Regions from separate parts of the Homo sapiens genome. Here regions 2, 3, 4 and 5 are each linked to region 1. The links are contacts of gene promoters, found by promoter capture Hi-C in blood cells and fetal thymus (Javierre and others, 2016). All regions are on one chromosome and are shown on one strand. Each heading gives the region's core, a stretch centred on a gene start or on the middle of the fragment in contact. The rest is flanking DNA. Distances are from core to core; before and after follow the strand shown. Region 1 holds the start of TNFSF15 (TNF superfamily member 15). Region 2 overlaps TNC (tenascin C). Region 3 has its middle 69 kb from the start of TNFSF8. Region 4 has its middle 40 kb from the start of TNFSF8. Region 5 has its middle 24 kb from the start of TNFSF8.

Region 1 (2,603 bases), core at 41-2,540:
TGAATCACAGTCTGTTTGTTGACCCTGATGGGGCAGCGAGAATTACAGATTTTCCATGGCTTACTTGTGGTGTCTATGCTTTGAAACTGGCCAGGATTGCTTAGAGGCTAGGTTTCCAGTTAAACCCATTGAAAACCCATTTTTTTCCCTTTGCAATTTAATACTTTGAACTGAAATGAAATCAGCCACCATAGATTATGAAGGGACATTTTTAAAAAGGATATTACTGGAAAGACTCATTCCTTAGGTTTTGAGGTACATCTTTGTTGTTCCCAGCCAAGAATTATGTTTTCTTCTTGACACCTATCGCTGCCCCTACCATTGTTCTCCCTAGACTTCATATTCTTTTTCTGACTAGGCTTCTCCCAGGCCTCAGCAAGACCTTAGAGATAGACAACCAGGCAGGAGGTTCTTTCTTAAGCTCTAAAAAGAGAAAAAGTTCTAAACCCAAGAAAAAGAGTGGGTAAAGAAATTATAGCATCCACATATAGGAATGTGTATCTATAGCATCATGTTGTTGTGAATTCATTAGCATATAAATAAAATCATAATATATTAGCAGACTCAGAATAATCTCGTCTCATTAAAAAATCCGTTTTATATCTGGCATATAATTCTGTACAGAATTATATATCCCAAACTGTTAACAGTGGTCAGCTATAAGAGTTATGGGTAATGATGACTTTCTTCCTCTCCTTATCTGTATTTTCTAACTTTTTTCAATGACCGTGTTAGTTATGTAATTTTAAGTTTTTTTCTTAAATAAAAAGAATCTTCCCAAATTACCAGTATACTATGATTATAATTATCTAAAAAATATGAGGCTGAAGGTTATCCCCACAGTAAAAGAAGGGACTGTTCATTCCCTAGAAATATTGAGAATAAACACCAAATTGAACCTCTCCACCCCTCCCACTCTACATTTCCTCTGCATGTAGAAACAAGAAATGTGATACATCAAGAAACTCTATCCTCTGTCCAGAGCTGAAATAGTTGCCACTCACTGCAGAGAGTCCACTGCTCCTCCCCAAGGTCAGAGTGCCATGTGGCTTACCTGGAACTGCACACAGGCCTCTCCCTGGGCCCGGAGCTGGCTGACAAGCAGGTATGTGGTGAGTCCTGCAAGGAAGGGGAGCAACACCAGGCAGCAGGTGAGAGCCCAGCGTGCGCTGCTGCTCCTGGCCTTGGGCCTGCAGCTGCCGTGCTCTGGCAGCATTTCCACACTGGCTGTTTCCCCAAAGCTCAGTCCCAGATCCTCGGCCATGCTCCTGCTGCTCCTGGAGGCACCTCTGACTCCTGGGCAGAGAGAGCCCCCATTAAATAGAAGACCAGCTCTCACAGTGGGTGACTTAATCACTCAGTCTCCTCCTTCCCTTTTCCTCTCCCCTCCCCTCTTCAAGAGCACACTGTGGCCCTACCCTGCTAGAGAATGCACCGCCTACAACAGAAACCAAGTTTGGTTTGAGGAAAAAAAAAAAAAAAAAAAAAAGAAGAAGAAGGAGAAGAAGAAAGCTTTCCCAAGCATATTTATATACAGTATGCTCATGTGCTCCTTCCTTCGTTTACAGAAGGAAGTTAGGAAAGTCCCTGAAGGAGGAGAGAAAGAATTCATCAAGTCAGTGGGTGGGGCAAATTAAAATATACCTGTTCCCTGCACTGGAGGCTTACCAGCTGTGCCAGTCTGGGGAGTGTGCTTCTGGAAGTGAAAGTGAGGGATGAGAGGTGTGTGGTTTGCAGATTGGGAAACGGAAATCACATTTGCATCAGCTCTTTGCAAAGTGCTGCCTAGCCCTCTGTCATTTTGAACCTCATAGAAATTCATTCTCAGTGTACAGATGGGAATAGCAAAGTTCTAAAAGGTGAAGGCACTTGTCCTAGGTCATCCAAGGATGAAGACAGAGGAGCTAGGAAGATGACCTAGTTCTAAATCACGGCTTGGAGTTGTAACCTCTAGCACATGACTGCCCATGAAAGGAAAGTATTTCCAGTCTGCATTGACCATTGTTTAATCAGAGTATGAGGCCACAGATCGAGGTGACTGTCTGTGAGGGTAGAACATTAACCACTACTCCCTGATTAGTCTAAAGTTAATTGATCATGTGATGTGCTTTGCCTGCAGTTGGGTGTGGGGGCCACAACATGTAATAAAAGATTATATTTATTAAGTGCTTACTTTGTGCCAATCACTGCTCTAAGTTAAATACATCAATAAAATTATTCAATCCTGAGATAAATTTTGTGACAATAAAGCTATCATTCTCATTTTACACATAAGAAAATAAAGCACAGACGGCAAGTGGTAGAGCCAGGATTGGGACTCAGGCAGGCTGGCTGCTGGCTTCTTCACCATCACACTTCACCATAGGTACTGCTGGATCATGCATGTTCATAAATACCTGCACTGTCTTTACCCAGGAGTGGGTAAGACCCTGCAGTGAGGGGGTTGAGGGGGCTTCCTGGAGAAAGAGGTGGTGTTGGAACTCGGCCTTAGAGCTCAGGGAGGGTTGATCTCAGAGGAAAGTAAAGGACCCTGGGAAAAGATGGGTTCTAGAAATAATAGGAAAGTTTAAGGAATGGCCTGTGATGTACGGCAGAAACCAGTT
Region 2 (2,603 bases), core at 68-2,567, 240 kb after region 1:
TCCCTCTGCCAACCTGGTGTACTCGCACTATTGCTTTGACTGAAAACCTCATTGGTGTAGGTACATTTTAGTAGGTGTATCTTATGGCCAAACACATTAATAGCTAATATGGTTACTGTGGGTAAAGAAATTCTGCTAAATACTTGACATTCATGATCTTATGTAAACCTCGTGGCTGACCTTTGAGTTAAATTCTATTTTCCAGATGAAGGAATTGAGGTAGAGCCATGATGAAACTCCAAGGACACTGTCCCATGGTTGTTGGCTTAACCACCAGGCAACACTGTCTCCCACTGCCCTTTCTACTGCCCTGGGCACCCAGGGCTGGCAGCTTGTGCTATGGAGAGGTACCTTGTGAGTGAGAGGAGGAGCTACAGCAGGGCCTTCTCAGGAGGAAGAGGGATAGGACATTACAGAGAAGAGTTTACAATGGTATGAGGGAGGAAGAGAGGAGAGGAGAAAGGATTAAAAAAAAAAAACAAAAGGGGAAATTTATAAACTTGATGAGGTGAAGATAGAAATTAGGCATCTTCTGTGCTCAAGAGCCCCCTTTCCTGTCTTCTCCTGGTCCTGGAGCACAGGCATGTAGACACACACACACACACACACACACACACACACAAGCACGCACGCGCATGGGCACCTCTCTTTGGCTATAAGCTACTAGGCTCTAGAGAAGAAAATCAAAGAGAGGGCTTTCCAAAAGAGCAGGGTCTGCCTTGCCTTTTTTTTTTGTTGTTCTTAAAAAAAATTCAATTCATGATTATTCATTCTCTTTTTTGCTTTAGAACTGCAGGGCTTCTAGAAAAAAAAGATCAGCAAAACAAATCAATGATCAGAAGAAGTAAACTTCGAAGAACACTGTTTATAAACCAAGATCAAAATCAAGGCTCTGCCTCTGATCTGGAGTCGTTTTATGGGCAGCCACAGGGAGGAGGAGACTGAGACCTGCATCCCAGGATAGGGTGTCCCTGTTAATAAGAAACAGGGTTTTTCCCTCTTACTAGGTTGCTGCCTGGATTCTAGCATTTTCTCCAAGCCTACAAATACTGATTATTATTTTTACATGGGTGATTTCTTGCCACTTATTAGGTCCTGAAAACTTAACAATATAAAATATCTATCTTTAGACAAAAAGGAGAGGTTTTGGCAAATGTCATGCCTATGCCTGTCAGAGATGGCAAGTAGCTATATGCATTGGTTTTCTCTCATCCAGACTGCTCATTTTAAATAGTATTAGAATAAGCTGGTCATTGGGCTTTACTCCAAATCTAGCTCTATGATCATAGAAAAATCATTTCACCATTCTGGTCCTCAGAGTCTTCATGCACAAACAGAAGAGGTTGAGCTACATCATCTCTCAGGTCCCTTTTATCTCTCCTGGTGATTTTGTGGTTCTGTCCCCTGGTTCCCTTTGAAGCAGCCATCTCCAGCGAATGCTATGTCTCTGCATCTCCCTCAGTTTCATGAAATAATTTACTTGACTTGTTGGAGGTTTTTCCTTTTCTCTTTAAAAAGTCATGTTCATCTTAGTATTATTATTATTACAAAGAGTCATATTATTACTACTGTTATTATTATCATTATTTGAGACAGAGTCTTGCTCTGTCGTCCAGGTGGGAATGCAGTGGCACGAACACAGCTCACCACAGCCTTAACCTCCTGGGCTCAAGAGATCTTCCTGCCTCAGCCTGCAGAGTAGCTGGTACTACGGGCATGAGGCACCACACCTGGCTAAGTTTTTGATTTTTTTTTTTTTTTTTTTTTGCACAGGTAGGGTCTTACTATGTTGCCTAGGCTGGTCTCAAACTCCTGGACTCAAGTGATCCTCCTGTCTCAGCCTCCTGAAATGCTGGGATTACAGGTGTGAGCCATCACTCTGGGCCTAAGAGTCATATTATTAACCATCTTTTTTTTTTTTCTCCTTGAAACAGCTCCTATGGAAAAAGGTAATTAAACTCCAAGGACACTCTAGGTGCCTTTCAGAGTTGTTATGAGTATCAAAGTTAGAGAGCTTCATAAACAGTAGCATGTTAATCTTGCCAGCTCTCTCCTTTATCCTTGCTGATCACCGTACTGATTATTCACATGTAGCATTTTATAAATATTAATGTGTATAGATAGACGTGCTGCTTCTCCATTATCTCCCTACTTGGTATAGCTCGAACATTTGGCCAAAGAACAAGGAAGTGTATCTCTGGATAAAATGATGAGATATGATATGATGAGATGAGATATGATGAGATAATAGATAGAAGGAAGAATCTTTGGAACGTAAAAAAAAAAAGATGATAATTGTAACGATGATGATGCATTAATGGCAACGTGAATAGCTCTCATTTGCTGGGCCCTTGCTACCTGCCAGGCCTTCCGCTATGGGCTTTATATGAATTATCTCATTTAATCCTCACAACCCTATTAAGTAAATGGCATCATACTTTTTTTGCATAAGGACTTAGCCAAATTGTCCAAGGTAACACAGTCTGTAATTGAAAGAGTCAGGATCAGAGCGCCAGCCTGCCTGCATCCAAAGCTCCTGTGATTACTCAGCCCTGTGAGAAGAAGACCCCTGAGTCATGACTTTTCTCTGTTCTCTCCTGTTT
Region 3 (2,603 bases), core at 56-2,555, 190 kb after region 1:
AAAAAATAAAAAAAATAGAAAAAGCTTACAGAATAAGGATATAGAGAAATCAACTATTTTTGTACAACTGTACAATGTGTTTGTTTTACACTAAGTATTTTACAAAAGACTCAAAAAGTTTTAAAAAATTACAAAGTTTATAATGTGAAAATGTTATAGTAAGTTAAGGTTAACTTACCGAAGAAAGAAAAAATTTAAAAAATAAATTTAGCATAGCCTAAGTGTACAGTGTTTATAAAATCTGCAGTAATGTACGGTAATGTGCTAGACATTCATGTTTGCTCACCCCTCATTCACCAACAGAGCAACTCCTAGTCCTGCAAGCTCCATTCATGGTAGGCACCCTATTCAAGTGTACCATTTTTAAATCTTTTATAGTTTATTTTTACTGTACTTTTTCTATGCTTAGATACATAAGTACTTACCGCCGTGTTACAATGATCTACAGTATTCAGCTCAGTAACATGCTATACAGGTTTGTAGCCTAGGAGCAATAGGCTATACCATATAGCCTAGGTTTGTAGTAGGCTGTATCATCTAGGTTAGTGTAAGTGAACTCTATGATGTTTGTACAACAACAAAATTGCCTAATGATGGATTTTTCAGAATTGAGTGTGATGCATGACTGTACTTTTTTCCTCTGAATTCCCTTCCATTTTTCCCCAACATCCTTTTTTTAAAATGGAAATTTTTATTGAGATAATTATAAATTCACATGCAATTATGAGAAATAATAGAGATCAATAATAAGAAGATGAATAACCTAATTAAAAGGTGGGCAAAGAGTTGGAATAGACATTTTTCCAAAGAAAATACACAAATGGCCAATAAGCACATGAAAAGACGCTCAACCTCATTAGCCATCAGGGAAATGCAAATTAAAACCACAATAAGATACCACTTCACACCCATTAGGAGGTCATAATAAAAAAAGACTAATAATAACAACCGTTGATGAGAATATGGAGAAATTGGAATCCTCCTTCCAATGATGGGTATGTAAAATGATGCAGATGTTTTGGAAAACAGTCTGATAGTTTGTCAAAAGGTTAATTGTAGAGTTAGTTACCATAGATTCAGCAATTTCATTCCTAAGTATATACTCAAGACAACTGAAAACATATGTCCACTCAAAGACCTGTACATGAATATTCATAGTAACATTATCCATAGTAGCCAAAAATCGGAAAAACCCAAATAATGTCTGTCAAATGAGGAATAAATAAATACAATGGATAATAATTTAGTAATAAAAAAATGAAATATTGACACATGCTACAATAAATGTTCAGTAAAATAAGTCAGTTATAAAGGACCACATAATTTTATGACTCTTCTTATATGAAATTTACACAATAGGCAAATCTGCAGAGACAGAAAGTAGATTAGCAGTGGCCTATGGCTTGGGAAATGGTGGGGTCAGAAAGTAATGGTTAAGGAGTGAGGGGTTTCTTTTTGGGATAATGAAAATTCTCTACAATTGATTGGGGTGATAGACACAAAACTCTGTGAATACACTAACAGTCATTGAATTGTAGAATTTGAACGAGTGAATTGTATGGTATTTGAATCAATAAAAAAACAAACTGTTTTTAAAAATAGAAATAATACGGAAAAAATCTGTGTACTCCTTGCCCAGTTTCCCCCAATGGTAGTATCTTGCCAAACTATAGCACAATAGGAAATTAAGACAAGGATATTGAGATTGATGCAATCCACTGGTCTCATGTAGATGTCCCCTGTTTAACTCGTTCTCTTTCCTCTGTCTCTCTCTTTCTGTGTTTACTTGTATACATTTTATCACAAATGTAGATTTGTGGATCCACCCTCACAGTCAAGATACTGAACAGAGTACTGCCTGTTTTAAAGCTCTGTTCACTGTAGGTTCTGTCTGAAGCAGCACTCCAGAGACCTTTAGTTTTTCCTCACTATTAATAATCAGACGTGAGGCAGCTCCCCCACTTGCCTCCACAGCTTCCCACCCCTCCTCATCGGGGTCAGAGGCAGAACTCACAGAGAAACATGAATTCTCACCCACACAGGAGGGATGCAAGTTTGGGATCTCAGGCACCATTCATCTAGATTCTAGAGTCACCCACACTTAGGAGGAGGAAAGTATCTTACCAAAGGAAGGAACGTGAATTCTGGAAGAGGGATACGCCCCCGTGTCTCCATACCTCGCTTTTTCCTCCCACCAATTTCGGAAGTGATTTCTATAACTCCCAGGCCCGGTCTGCAAATTGTCAGCGCTTTTGGAGATCCGGTATTTATTGGGTCGCCACTAGCAAACACTCTCAGGGAAAGGACTGGCAATGAATCATCTGTACTAATCCCTGTGTTTTCATCAGTCTTGCTTCGGTGCAAGGGGACAGCCCCGGTTGTTCTTCTATATCATCATCACTTTGGTTTCTCTCAAAATGTTTGCTCAGAAAAAGCCCAGAGTTTGGCCTCGGTTCACTTTGGACTTCCAGGGGAATTTCCCGTCCTCCTTGGACTCCATGGGTGAAGCTGTTTGAACATTCGCTCCTTACTCAGCAGTGCAGATGGCAAAGCCGGTGCCAGCACAGATGTCTTTTGGGATCAAAGACAAGCTTAGCAGAGTC
Region 4 (2,603 bases), core at 76-2,575, 160 kb after region 1:
TCCCCGAGTATTTGTTCTCCACTTCTTCCTCAATAATGCACCACCTAGAATCACCTGGATACAGAAGCCCAGAACAAACTACATTTCCCAGACTTCCTTGCAGCTAGATGTGCTCAATTCTGACCAATGGGATGGAAATAGAATTAATGTTGACTTTTTTTTTTTCCAGGAAATCTTAGAGTGAGAGGACATAATTTTCTCCTTCCAATATCTCCTTCTGGCTGACTAAGATAAAATGGATAAATGGGTAAGATATTTGGAACTTGGATCATAAAATGGAGTTACATGTTGAGAATTGCAGTGCATTGAGAAGCATGGTGTCCAGGTTATCTGCCAATAGTCAAGCCTCTATGCAGGCTTTTAACTGTGTATGTTTACATAAGCATGAGAGACAGATATATTTCTATTTTGTTTAAAACACTCTTATTTTTGGTTTACAAATTGTTGTAGCTGAACTTAATACACGGGAACATTTTCAAAAGAGGGCTGGGCACAGTGGCTCACTCCTGTAATTCCAGCATTGGGAGGCAGAGTTGGGAGGATTGTTTGAGGCCAGGAGTTTGAGGCCAACTTGGGCAACATAGTGAAATCCAGTCTCTGTAAAAGACTTAAAAATTAGCTGGGCATGGTTGCATATGCCTGTAGACCCAGCTACTTGGGAGGCTGAAGAAGAAGGATCACTTGAGCCCAAGAGGTTGAGGCTGCAGTGAGCTATTATTTCACCACTGCATGCCAGCCAGGGTGACAGAGTGAAAAAGTCTCAAAAAAAAAAAAAAAAAAAAAAAAAAGAAAAGAGTACACAACTTTCATAATTTCATAATTTTTCTTTCAAGAACAGCTAATAAAAATATTTTGAGCTTGCTTACCATAAACTTCACAATCATGTATGGTAGATTTGATTTTGGGTGATGATCAGGGAGTGCCTACCTAGTTGGCCACTAGTTAATTTTTGTATAAATACAGGGTTTGCTTGATCAACAACTTGAATATTTTATACTAAGTATCTAAACTAATCCTTTTATTTTCACTGAAAACTGTTATATTTCCATTTTTTACATGAGGTTGTTAATATAAAACCAATTTGTTTTTGTGAATGAAGTGAGGAAAAGATCCATTTTTTTTTTGAAAAAAGAGATAGCTCATTATTCCAAACCACTTAATTTATAGCATTTATATACATATTTTTGCTGCTGATTTAAAATGTACATTTATCAAATGTTAGCTACTTATATCAACATTTATATTTGAAGGACAATGACTAGGAATTTTATGAATTTCATAAAAAATATAAATTCACAGATCCAAGATACTCAATAAACCTCAAGCTGAAATAACACAAAGAAAGCCACACAAAAAACCCATATTAATTAAATTCCTGAAAACAAGTGAAGAGAAAAACCTTAAAAATAGAAAAAATATGCATAAAGAAACAAATATACAAATTAATTTCCCCTCAGAAACTATGTATTTCAGAAGAATGGAAAAACATCTTTAAAATGCTGAAAGAAATTATAAACTTAAAATTGTATATCTGACCAAAACATTATTCAAAATTAAAGGCAAAATAATTTTTTTTTTCTGGAAAAAAAAAAAACCAGAAAATTTGTGGCTAGGAGACCTGCATAACAAGAAATGTTTTTTAAAAATTTAAGTCCTTAAATGGAAGAAAAATAAGTGATGAAAACTTGGATCTACACACAAAAATAAAAAGCTCCAGACATGGTAAATATAAAATACTTTTTTATTTGTTAAATTTATATAGTTCTTAAAAATAATTGATTGTTTAAAGCAAAAATCATACCAATGTATTGAGAATTTTAAGCTATGTAAGAATAAATTTTATAATAAAATAACTCACAGTATATTAGGAAGTGAATACTGTTGCAAGATTTTAAATTTATATGTGAAGTGATATAATGTTAATTGAAAGTAGACTGTGATAAAATTAAGATGCATGTTATGAACCTTAGTGAACAAAGAAATAAACAAAAAAGTATAGCTTATAAGTCAATAGTGGATTTAAAATAGAATGATAGAAAATATGCAATTAATCCAAAAGGAGGTAGGAAAGAAGAAAAAGGGGAAGAAAGAGCATATGGGATAAATTCAAAACACATAACAAAAAGATAAATTTAAACCCAATTATGTCAATAATTATATTGAGTATAAATAGTCTAAATGCTCCCATTAAAAGGCAGAGATTTCAGATTGGATAAAATGCAAGACCAACTATATGCTGCTTATAAGGAAACTATTTATAAATATACAGATAAGTTAAAATGAAAAGTACTGAAAAAGATACAATATGCATATACCAATCATAAGAAAGGTGGACTGGATATATTAATATCAGATAAAGTAGAATTCAAAGGAAGGAATATTATCAGGACTAAAGAGGGATACTTTATAATGATGTGAACATCAAGAAAACATAACCATCCTAATTTGTACCCAATTAACAGAGCTTTAAAATACATGAAACAAAAATGAACACAACTCGAAGAAGAATTAGACAAATTCACAATTATATTTGTAGTCTCCAACATTCCTTTTCAAGTAGTCGACAAAAAAAGACAGAAAATCACCAAATATAGAAGAATTGA
Region 5 (2,603 bases), core at 40-2,539, 150 kb after region 1:
ATAACCCATGAATCCCACTGCAACAGGATTATTGCTGTTGTTTTAAAATAAATTAATAAGTACAGATTTTTTAAGTTTCTCAGTTTTTATTTCTAATAATATTCATAGATAAAGCCGTATGCACACAAGTTTTTTGGAGTCCTCAATTTTTAAAAGGCTACGGAGTTTTGAGACCAAAATGACTGAAAACTACTGACTACATTAACGTTTAGGAGACATTGTTGATTCTGTGCTGCCTACTCCCAGTGCAATAAAAGTAATTTGTAATTAATCCTTAGTAATTCTGACAAGAAAATGCCAACAGCAATGATGTGAAGGCATCCTGCTGCTTTTAAAGGAAGCAAGACTTAATATGCAGAGAGTTAAGAGCTATTTCACAAAAATAATTACATCTGGGTTCACTTTAACCCAAGGGCATGGATTGCAAAATGTAATTAGAGCACATTTTCTCAAATATTAATTGCTATTTCTTTAATAGAGGAAAATCATAATAGAAAAAAATAAAAAAGGAACTCCACCTCTCGGAATTTCACTATGCCAGGCTTCTGGCCAAGGGCATGTGATGGCTTCTTTTCAGCAGTCTTGAAGGGGTCTCCTCACAAGCAAAGCAATGCAATCTGCATTGTGATCCTGATTCTGCTATCAGCTTGCTGCTCTCCCTGGGTTCCATTTTCCTCATGGAGGTAGGGAGAGAGTATCTCTTGGGTCCTTCCTTGAGAGACTCATCTGTATTGAGACATCTGAAACAGAATGAGGAGCGGATAAAGAGGGCATTTAGGAAGCCAATGCAGTGATGGCCAAGACCAAGACTTTGGATTTAGTCAAAGAGAGGCCCATAGGAGCCCAAGGAGAGATTGTAGGAAATCTTGCATCCAAAATTCCAGGAGGGATTAAGGGAAAGTAGTGGGTATGTATAAGGAGCAAAGTAGGAGTTTACTTGAGAAGAAGAAGCTGTCACATAGTTGATGAGAGCAGGCAATCCCTGAGTAGCACATGGCCACTTCCAAATCCAGCAAGGACATTGGGGAGGTCCCCTTGCTGGCTTATGTCTAAGCTTGACATGTCATCCTACAGGAAACACATACAGTCTGGCTCCACTTTCTGACAGTACGGTAACTTCTTTTGTTAGGTTATGGACTGGAATCTGTTTATAGGCAAAAATCTTAAAAGGAAGAAACATATGCCAAATGTTGGTCTCAGTCTTGCGACACATTCTTGTGTTTATGGCATCATCCAGTGACTCAGCGTTGCTTTTTGGATAGGGTACAAATGCTTCATGGTCTCTTTCCTGCTGTCTTTGCAAGTTTGCTCCTGAGGGCTTCTGCAGGCACACTCTCCCCTTCAGCTGATCGTAACGACTTCAGATCCTTTAAGTCCCAACGGAGCTCGCTCTCACACCCAAGCCTTTGCACATGCTGGTCCTTCTACCTGGAGGCCCATTCCCCTAAACTGGCTGACTGGCTAGCTTTCAAGTTCTCAGTTTAAATGTCATCTTCTTAGAACCACCTTCCCTGCAGACTAAAGTAAGCTTATAGTTTATCTACCTCCATTATTCTCTCTCATGGTACCTCGTTTTAGGGCTTCATAATACCTATCATATTTTATAATTTTTGAGATTGAGTATTTTTGGAAATTAACTGCCACTTTATCAAGTTAAAAAACATGCTGAAGGTTTATAATGAAAACAGCAGTGCTCTGCCTATGAATCTCTACCTCACTTGGTCCTGCTCTCCAGAGAAATCACTTGGAACTGTGCTAGCTGTCTCTTCTAATACATGCCTCAGTATTTCTAGCAAATATGCTTATATTGTTATATATTGATTTATTAATATTAGACTTCTACTGATTTTCTGCTATAAAAGGAAAATTTAGATCTTCTATACATCTCTTCATTTCTCCTCTTGCTTTAATATTCATTTCACAATTTTTGGATAAATCCAAATCATTGTTTATGTTTTTATGATTATACAAAAATTATTTGCAGAGTCCAAGTAGTATACTAGGATCATATATTTTCTTGTCCAACTTTATTCTTCCTAAAATTGCCTGTTTACCTCCAGTTGGTGTTGTTTGTTCTACATTTATTTTTATCTTTTTTTCACCCATTCCATCAGATCACTAATTAGTTTTTCCTTTTAAATCAGGCGTTGGCAAACTCTTTCTATAAAAGATCATATAGTAAATATTTTTAGACTTTTTGGTCCAGACAGCCTCTGTTGCAACTACTCAACTCAGCTGTTAAAGTCATGGGCAATATGCAACTGAGCTGCAGACAATATGTAAATGAAGGGGGGCAGCTGGCCATGTTCCAAAAAACCTTTATTTACAAAAGCAGGTGGTAGGCAGGATTTGGTCCACGGACTGCAGTTTGTCAACTCCTAATCAAAATGATAAAATAGACCAGATATTATTTTTTTGTAATGCTTTACTTTCCCAAAGCCCTGTCCTAGAGCCCCCTTGCCTGCGTTGCTATCTGTACTGCTGGTTCTCTTTGTGTCCTACCCTGCTGGCATCCTGGAACTTCCCCCCACTGTTTTCCTGTTTTAGACCCCTTGTTTTTTGGACCTCCGCACTTCCTCTTTCTTGTTTCATTCCTTGGTTTA

The links. The method cuts DNA at HindIII sites, captures the fragments that hold promoters and counts their contacts. A CHiCAGO score of 5 or more calls a contact.
Region 2: a contact is called between a fragment that was not itself captured here and the fragment with the promoter of TNFSF15 in region 1, in 2 of 17 cell types (monocytes and neutrophils). The highest score is 6.9, in monocytes.
Region 3: a contact is called between a fragment that was not itself captured here and the fragment with the promoter of TNFSF15 in region 1, in 12 of 17 cell types (total B cells, neutrophils, monocytes and 9 more). The highest score is 9.4, in total B cells.
Region 4: a fragment that was not itself captured here is called in contact with the fragment with the promoter of TNFSF15 in region 1 in 8 of 17 cell types (total B cells, monocytes, non-activated CD4 T cells and 5 more); the score reaches 8.1 in total B cells.
Region 5: a contact is called between a fragment that was not itself captured here and the fragment with the promoter of TNFSF15 in region 1, in 7 of 17 cell types (naive B cells, total B cells, non-activated CD4 T cells and 4 more). The highest score is 8.4, in naive B cells.

What each region holds. Positions count from the first base shown.
Region 1 is chr9:114,804,749-114,807,351 of GRCh38, forward strand. TNFSF15 (TNF superfamily member 15) reads right to left here and starts at 1,291. Exons shown (of 4, transcript NM_005118.4): 1 at 1,055-1,291. The coding sequence starts at 1,264. The HindIII fragment of the contact is 3,139 bases long and covers 1-1,510 here.
Region 2 is chr9:115,043,796-115,046,398 of GRCh38, forward strand. The region is part of intron 17 of TNC (tenascin C); the gene reads right to left. Among named protein-coding and RNA genes, the nearest start is that of TNC, 73 kb to the right of the region's middle. The HindIII fragment of the contact is 7,382 bases long and covers 1-2,603 here.
Region 3 is chr9:114,997,929-115,000,531 of GRCh38, forward strand. No RefSeq gene overlaps it. Among named protein-coding and RNA genes, the nearest start is that of TNFSF8, 69 kb to the left of the region's middle. The HindIII fragment of the contact is 2,567 bases long and covers 23-2,589 here.
Region 4 is chr9:114,969,415-114,972,017 of GRCh38, forward strand. No RefSeq gene overlaps it. Among named protein-coding and RNA genes, the nearest start is that of TNFSF8, 40 kb to the left of the region's middle. The HindIII fragment of the contact is 3,315 bases long and covers 1-2,603 here.
Region 5 is chr9:114,952,884-114,955,486 of GRCh38, forward strand. No RefSeq gene overlaps it. Among named protein-coding and RNA genes, the nearest start is that of TNFSF8, 24 kb to the left of the region's middle. The HindIII fragment of the contact is 474 bases long and covers 1,053-1,526 here.